3 separate regions of the Homo sapiens genome follow, and all the other regions are linked to region 2. The links are contacts of gene promoters, found by promoter capture Hi-C in human tissues and cell types (Jung and others, 2019). All regions are on one chromosome and are shown on one strand. Each heading gives the region's core, a stretch centred on a gene start or on the middle of the fragment in contact. The rest is flanking DNA. Distances are from core to core; before and after follow the strand shown.

Region 1 (2,700 bases), core at 197-2,696, 210 kb after region 2:
AGTACAATAACGGTTCTGATAACAACTACACAAAGTTTTTTTGTTTTTTTTTTGTTTTTTTTTGAGACGGAGTCTCACTCTATCACCCAGGCTGAAGTGCAGTGGTGTGATCTCAGCTCACTGCAAGCTCCACCTCCCAGGTTCATGCCATTCACCTGCCTCAGCCTCCCAAGTAGCTGGGACTACAGGCGCCCACCACCACGCCCAGCTAATTTTTTGTATTTTTAGTAGAGACGGGGTTTCACCGTGTTAGCCAGGATGGTCTAGATCTCCTGACCTCGTGATCCGCCAGCCTCGGCCTCCCAAAGTGCTGGGATTACAGGCATGAGCCACCGCGCCGGCCCAAATAGTTCTTTATACCAACAAAACATAGACTTTTCTTTTTCTTTTTCTTTTTACAAATGCAAAAGCAAACATAAGGGGTACACTGTCTTTCCAAACTGTTCCTGCTGGTTACTTTGTTGCTTAGTTTTGAGACAGGGTCTCACTCTGGTTGCCCAGGCTGGAGTCCAGTGGGCAACCAGAGTGAGACTGGGGAAATTAATAAAACAGTAAGCAAACATACAGAAAAAAAAAAATCAATGAAACCAAAAGGTGGTTCTTTGAAGAGACAGAAAATTAATAAATCCTTGCCAAATAAATATAAGGTATAAGGACTGAAAAAGAAATAAAACTCATTATTCACAGATGCTATGTCCATATATACAGGAAAGCCCAAAAGAATCTAAAGATAATTAGTAAAAGTGAGTTTGGCACAGTTGCTGAATATGAGGCATATATATATCTTTCTAAAAGATATATAAAAATGCAAACAATCCAGAATAGCCAAGACACTATCTTTAAAAAGAATAAACAGAGGGCCAGGCGCGGTGGCTCACGCCTGTAATCCCAGCACTTTGGGAGGCCGAGGCGGGTGGATCACCTCAGGTCAGGAGTTCGAGACCAGCCTGGCCAACATGGCGAAATCCCATCTCTACCAAAAATAGAAAAATTAGCCGGGCATGGTGGCATGCACCTGTAGTCCCAGCTACTTGGGAGGCTGAGGCAGGAGGATCACTTGAACCCAGGAGGCGGAGGTTGCAGTGAGCCGAGATCGCGCCACTGCACTCCAGCCTGGGTGACAGAGCAAGACTCTGTCTCAAAAAAAAAAAAAAAAAAAAAGAATAAACAGAAAGCTTCATCTATGAGTTACCAAGCCTTCCTTACAGAGCTATGGAAATTAAGGCAACGTAGCACTGGCTCAAAGTTAAATTGAACAATGGGGCACAAGAGAAAGCCCAGAAGCATACCTGTACCAACAGAGACCCTGACTCGAGGGAACACAGAGCTATGGCCCAGAGGCAAAGGGCAGTCTTTTCCATGAATGATGCTCATCTCTAAGACAAAAAAAAATCAAACTTTCCCCATCTCACACCACATATAAAAATCAAAATAGGTAAGAAGAAAAATGGAGGCAGAGTTGAAAAGAGCCACTGTCAGAGTCAACACGAATGATGCTGTGGTCCAAACGCTTGCGTCCCCCCAAAATTCCTATGTTGAATCCTAATGTATGTGGTATTGGGAGGTGGGACCTTTGGGAGGAGATTAGGTCAGGAGGGCAGAACTCTCATGAATGGAGTTAGTGCCTTTATAAGAAGAAACGAGAGATTTGCCTCTGGCCATGTAAGGGCACAAGGAGAAGACAGTCATCTGCAAACCAGGAAGACAGCCCTCACCAGACTTCCCAGCCTCCAGAATTGGGAGCAATAAATGTTTGTTGTTTAAGCTCCCTGGTCTTTGGTATTTTTTTACAGCAGCCTGAACTGACTAAAACAGATGGCTAATAAGCACATGAGAAAATGCTCAACATTGTGAATCATAAGGGTAATGCAAATTAAAACCACAATAAGATACAGCTCAATAGCTTCAGCATTATCAGTATCTTTAGTCACAAAAGAATGGCCAAAATTAAAGACTTAAAGTGCTGGCAAGTTTAGCAAGTAGATCTCTCATGCACCACTGATGGGAATGCAAAATGGTTTGGTTACCCTTTGGGAAAGAAGTTTGACCATTTCCACTAAAATTACATATATATTGACTCTAAGACCCAGCAATTCTACTGGGTCTTATGTTGCCATAGACTTTTGTGTGAATGTTCATAGTAGCTAAATTCGTAATAGCCCCAAACTGGAAACAACCCAAATGTCCATTGATATGGTTTGGCTTTGTGTCCCCACACAAATTTCATCTTGAATTGTAATCTCCAGGTGTTGAGGGAGGAACCTAGTGGAAGGTGACTGGATCATGGGGGCAATTTCCTCCATGCTGTTCTCATGACAGTGAGTTCTCATGAGATCTGGTGGTTTTATAAGTGTTCGAAAGTTCCTCCTTCACTCTTCTTTCTTGCCACCTTGTGAAGAAGGTGCTTGCTTCCCCTTCGGCTTCTGTCATGATAAGTTTCCTGAGGCCTCCCTAGCCATGTGGAACTGTGAGTCAATTAAACCTCTTTCCTTTATAAATTATCCAGTCTCAGGGAAGTTCTTATAGGAGTGTGAAAACAGATGAATACAGTAAATTGGTACCAGGGGTACTGCTATAAAGATAACCTGAAAATGTGGAAGCAACTTCAGAACTGGGTAGTAGGCAGAGGTTGGAACAGTTTGAAGGGCTTAGAAGAAGGAAGATGTGGGAAAGTCTGGAACTTCCTAGAGACTTGCTGAA
Region 2 (2,700 bases), core at 101-2,600:
AAGACCCAGGCATGGAGGCTGAGCCGGGACTGAGCCTTCCTGGGCGTGGCTGTGAGTTCCACCTGGTGACCCCCTGGAGGAGTTAGGCCACTGTCCCCCGTGACTTCTAGGTTAAGTCACTCATTCATAGAAACAGTCATGGCTAGAGACCAATCTGAGCTCAAAACCATGTATCCCCAGGAGCACTACAGAAAAAGAGAATCAGGCGACCAAGGGGAGTTTATTGGGGAGCAGGAGGAGGTGCTGACAGGTTCAAGTCGAGGCCAAGTGACATGGGGCAGAGAAGCTGGGAGGGAGGACAGGGGACCCAACAGGCAGGTGGGCCCCTGCTGGGAGGCAGGAGCTGGGGAGCTTCGAGGATGGAGATTCCTGGGAGTATGGAGGGGGGGGTCACCTCAGCACATGGGGGCCCCGTCCCAAGCGGGGGCAACCTCCTAACCCGAGTCAGGACCAGTTGGCCCTGGGGGATGTGCACATCAGCAACTGGACTCCTGGCCTGAGCAGAGGCCTCAGCAGGCCAGGGGGGAGCACGCGGGGCGGCAGAGGAGGGACACGCAGGAGGCCGGGCGGCAGCAGCTGGCCTGGTAGGAGGAGGCAGGGGCACAGCAGGAGGAGATGGGCAGGCAGCAGGCGGGCCTGCATATGGGGCGGCAGAGGAGGGACACGGAGGAGGAGGGTCTGCAGCAGGAGGTGGTGCAGCAAGCCGGCTGACAGCTAGACTGCTGGCAGCATGAAGTGGAAGCCCCAGAGCAGACGGGCACACAGCAGATGGGTTTGCAGCAGACAGGCTTGCAACAGACAGGCACGTAGCAGGACTGCTGGCAGGGGGAGGAGGTGCAGCAAGTCGGCTGGCAGCTAGAATGCTGGCAGCATGAAGAGGAATCCTCAGAACAGGTGGGCACACAGCACACGGGCTTGCAGCAGACAGGCACACAGCAGGACTGCTGGCAGGAGGAAGAGGCACAGCAAGTTGGCTGGCAGCTAGACTGCTGGCAGCATGAAGAGGAATCCTTAGAGCAGGTGGGCAGGCAGCACACAGGCTTGCAGCAGACGGGCACGCAGCAGGCCTGCTGGCAGGGGGAGGAGGCGCAGCAAGCCGGCTGGCAGCACGAGGGCGTGCAGGAGCTGGTGCAGCCTGATTGGCAGGGGCTGGGCTCACAGGCCGCCTGGCAGCAGGGGCTGGACACACAGCTCACTGGGGTGCAGACCAGGGTCAGGCAGGGGGCGGTGCCGCAGGGGGGCTCACAGCAGCTCTCTGGGCAGTCGTCCACTCGCCAGGAGTCAGAGCAAGCGCTGGAGCAGACGGACATGGTGCACGCGGCCATGCTGGGGTGGGGAAGACGTGAGCTGGGAGCTGGGGGAGGTGTGAGTGAGTGAGTGTGTGAGTGAGTGAAGGAGGGAGTGAGTGAGTGAGGTGCTCAGGGCTGTGGGGCTTTTAAATCCCTCCCTGGCGTGTGTTGTCCCGACAGGAGGCTCCACAAGCTTCTCTTCCTTGTTGGTGTTTAGAGCTGGTGGCTGGAGATGCGTCATTCATGCTGGTTTATCTGTTTGTTTTTCCCTCATTAAACTTGTGTGTATGTTGCAGGGCCGTGTTTCTTCATCGGTTCTTATTTTAGCCCCAGAAATGTGGTGGAAAATATTTCAAGCAAACTTTTGTTGAGTAGAGGTTTTAGAGATGAAGACTTCTCTAAAGGGAGGAATTCTAGTTTCACCTATCCTGTGTTTGGACTGATTGGATATATTTTATTACTTTTAGCATATTAAAATATAAATAGGTAGAAAAATATGCATTTCTTATAAAATGCAGCTGGCACAGAGGGTACGATGAAGCTAAGTGGCCCTCTCTTCAACCCCTTGTGCCTCGTAAGGGGAATGCTCAGAGATTTGGTATCTGGTGGATCTGTGCTTTATCCTTGTCTCTTCAGCTCTTCCATGCCACCCTCAGAGCCCTCTCTCTGTTTTATTTGAAGCTGCGCTCTGGGTTTTCTCCATTTTTATTTCCTCATGGTGACAGATCAAGTACTTTTTCACATATGGTGATTTTAGGACATACATTTTAAGATTTCTTTCTTGCCTAAAAATGTACTCAACTTTACCCTCACACTTATATGATAGTTTAGCTGGGTATATAATTCTGGTTTTAAGTCAGAATTATTATTATAAATAATAACAAAAAATCTGTTTTCTCAAAATGATGAACCTGTGTCACCATTTTTCTGTAGTGTCCAGCGTTGCTGATGAGAGACTGAGGTTGGTCATTTGTCATTTTTTATAGTTTGTCTCTCTCTCTCCGTTTAACTCTCTGGGAACATTTGGTTTTCTTTTTATTCTTCTTTTGTTTCTATGCGTGTGCATTATTTTACTTTCTGTGGTTAGAATTCATTGAGCCTTTCAATGTGGAGACTCAGGAAGTGTTTTGCGCTCTTAAAAATAACTCATCTCTCAAGGTCTTTCCTTTTGTGACTTTAATTTTGTCTCACGATGAATGAAATACATTTTTGGCTCACTGTAATGATGTTATGTTGAGCATTTAAACGTTTTTCCCCTCGTTTCACTGGACATCAGTTAAGCTCTGCTCATTGGTGGCAGTTCATTTGATTTTCTGAGTAAAAGACTATTTTATTCCAGGGCATTGGGGTCCTGATCCAGTTTACATTCTAATTTGTTTCCATCTGTTTCTCTTTTCTACAAATATATAAA
Region 3 (2,700 bases), core at 171-2,670, 150 kb after region 2:
TCAGCCCACAGAGCTCAGAGGACGGCTGAGGCCTCTGGTCAGAAGACCCCAGGCTTCCCCGAAGGAAGGGACACCTCACGAGGACAGCCTGTCACCACAGTCCTAATGGACTTCCAGGGACCACAGTGCCAGCGCTTTCCATCAGAATGGCTGACAGTATTAGAGATCATACATCATTCATTTGCCTCACGAACCCCGAGGGAGTGCTTGCTCCAGAGAGACCCCTGGGCTCCCAGGGCCTGGCACTGGTGACAGTGGCATGGGAGGGGCACATGAGCCGGGTGGCACAGCAAGGCAGCACCGTGACCCTAGGGGTGCTGTGGGCGGAGAAGATGGGGGCAGTCCTGGGCTGCTGAGCTTCTCTGAGGGGTCATCGTCCTTCAGGCAAGTGGCAGGAAGTGGCCCACAGGCTTCCAAGCTGCGGGAGCAGAGTGAACAAGCAGCAGGAAGAGCTGAGAGTCCTGGGAACAGTGGAGCCTGCATGGAGGGGACAGGAAAGGGGATGGAGTCCGGGGCAGCAGTGAGAGACCCAGAGGACGAGAGACCTGGAGACACCTGCAGCCCTGGGAGACGCCCTGGCAGCCAGGGCTCAGGAAAAACCATCCTCAGAGAAGACACACGAGGTCATTATTCAGAACAAGAGTAGGTAGATAAAAGCATATCCTTTGGGAGGCTAAGGCGGGCAGATCACCTGAGGTCAGGAGTTCGAGACCAGCCTGACCAACATGGAGAAACCCCATCTCTACTAAAAATACAAAATTAGCTGGGCGTGATGGCGCATGCCTGTAATCCCAGCTACTCGGGAGGCTGAGGCAGGAGAATCATTTGAACCCCGGAGGCAGAGGTTGTGTTGAGCCGAGATCGCGCCATTGCACTCCAGCCTGGGCAACAAGAGCAAAACTCCATCTCAAAAAAAAAAAAAAAAAAAAAAAAAAAGTATATCTTGGCATTAGTGCTATTCTCAGCATCAGAAGTCAAAATGGCAACTCATTAAGCATCACCACCAGCGATGTTTGTGGTGGGAGAGTGGAGACCATAGACCCCCAGCATTGATAATGTTGGTCCAAGTAAAATGCAAGAACTTCAAATGCAAGGGTCAAAGTGTCCCTTGAATAACCGCATTTTTCTCGGGTAGAATTCCAAATTACAGCGAGTTCATAGCACTGGTCCTGCCCCGCCACGATGACCCACTTGGTGTTGATGGACGAGAACGCGCTTGTGTCTTACTCGTGCAGTTTGCTAAACTAACAACCAAAAGGCCATCGCGCCCTTACAGTTTTATTCCCCGCTGACAGATTTGAGGGGAGCTGTCAGGTGGGAGGCTTCTGAGAGCATTCTAGCCTATTACACCCAGCAAATAGATTACATCACTTAGACATACGTTTGCTTTTAAAAATAACTTTATTTTTCCTACGACACAAGTAATAATAGGTTCCTTGTTGAAACCTCATCACATATGGATGACAAAAAGTAGGAATGAAAACTGATCACAATTTCACTGTCAGAGATAGACACTGAGCATCTCGGCACCGTGCAGCAAGAATGTATGTAGATACCCATGGTAGATAAAAAATATATGATATATGGGCATAAAACATGGACTGTCCCGTCGTCTTCTGTGAGCCGCCAGCACAGCTGATGATGTGGGTGGCACAGGCATTGAGTCACCACTGGGAGTGGCCGTCATCCCTCTCCTGAAGAGACGGGGGATAGGGGGCCTGTGGGGCACCTGGGGATCGTCCCCTCCTCCACATGGCCTGTGCAGCTGGTCAGAGTGAGCTCACCAGGAGCACCGGCTGCTCCCAGCCCTGGGCCCCCTTGAGTTCTCCACCAGCACCCCGCCCCTGCGAATATGCACAGATCAAGGGGACAGGGCCCCGCTGGGCCACAGGCTCAGGACAGGTGACCATCCAAGAGGGCCGGGAAGTGGAGGGTGCTGCACACTGGCCTGCTGGCCCAGTATCACCCGATCTCGTGTCTGCCTCTTGAGCGCTGATGGTGTGCGTCTGTGCCCCTCACAAAACAGCACTGCGGTAAGTCCAAGACACAAGCGGGCCAAAGACTCAAGGCAGTGCAGAAGGCGGCACGTGTTCCAGGGGAACACGGCACCCCTGACCATAGCAAGAGGCACAGGAAAGCGGCCTGCAGCAGGGAGGGGGCGGAGAGCCTGGTGTCTTCTGCATCCTAGGGAGCCAGGCTGCCTGTGCCCCAGTGGCTTCTCCATAACTTCTGGGTTCTGTGGATGTCCCCTGCAGCCGGGACTCCTGACCGAGGCAGCTCCGTCAGGGTCCAACTGATTCCCCGCACATTGGGCAAGAGGTGGTTCCTAATCACACATCAGCTTCTTGATGACCGTTAGTGGATTTTGGCTGCTGTAAGAAAATACCACTGACTGGGTGTTTCAACAACAAGCTGTGTTCCTCACAGTCTAGGGGCTGGAAGTTGGAGGCCAAGGTGGCAGCAGGGTCGGGTTCTGGCAAGGACACTCTTCCTGGTTTGCTCGCGGCTGTCTTCTTCTTGCACCCTCATGTGGCAGACAGAGCAAAAGTGACAGCATGCTCTCTGGGGTCTCCTTCATAAGAGGACCCCATCATGAGGGCCACAACCTAATCACCTCCCAAACGCCCTGCCTCCTAGCGCCACCACACCAGGGTTAGAATTTCTATATAGGAACTCTGGGGAGATGCAATCGGCCCATAA

The links. The method cuts DNA at HindIII sites, captures the fragments that hold promoters and counts their contacts. A contact is called where the count stands out against the background at its distance.
Region 1: a contact is called between a fragment that was not itself captured here and the fragment with the promoter of KRTAP10-5 in region 2, in 3 of the 25 tissues and cell types used here (heart left ventricle, mesendoderm cells and thymus).
Region 3: a fragment that was not itself captured here is called in contact with the fragment with the promoter of KRTAP10-5 in region 2 in 2 of the 25 tissues and cell types used here (IMR-90 fibroblasts and lymphoblastoid cells).

Annotation. Positions count from the first base shown.
Region 1 is chr21:44,788,245-44,790,944 of GRCh38, forward strand. All of the region lies in intron 1 of UBE2G2 (ubiquitin conjugating enzyme E2 G2), which reads right to left. Among named protein-coding and RNA genes, the nearest start is that of UBE2G2, 12 kb to the right of the region's middle. RefSeq lists a silencer at 148-372. The HindIII fragment of the contact is 3,302 bases long and covers 1-2,700 here.
Region 2 is chr21:44,579,254-44,581,953 of GRCh38, forward strand. It overlaps KRTAP10-5 (keratin associated protein 10-5), which reads right to left and starts at 1,351. Exons shown (of 1, transcript NM_198694.3): 1 at 202-1,351. The coding sequence starts at 1,325. The coding sequence ends at 510. The region is part of intron 1 of TSPEAR (thrombospondin type laminin G domain and EAR repeats); the gene reads right to left. RefSeq lists enhancers at 495-1,085, 1,086-1,675. The HindIII fragment of the contact is 3,934 bases long and covers 1-2,700 here.
Region 3 is chr21:44,727,695-44,730,394 of GRCh38, forward strand. No RefSeq gene overlaps it. Among named protein-coding and RNA genes, the nearest start is that of TSPEAR, 17 kb to the left of the region's middle. RefSeq lists an enhancer at 2,659-2,700. The HindIII fragment of the contact is 7,356 bases long and covers 1-2,700 here.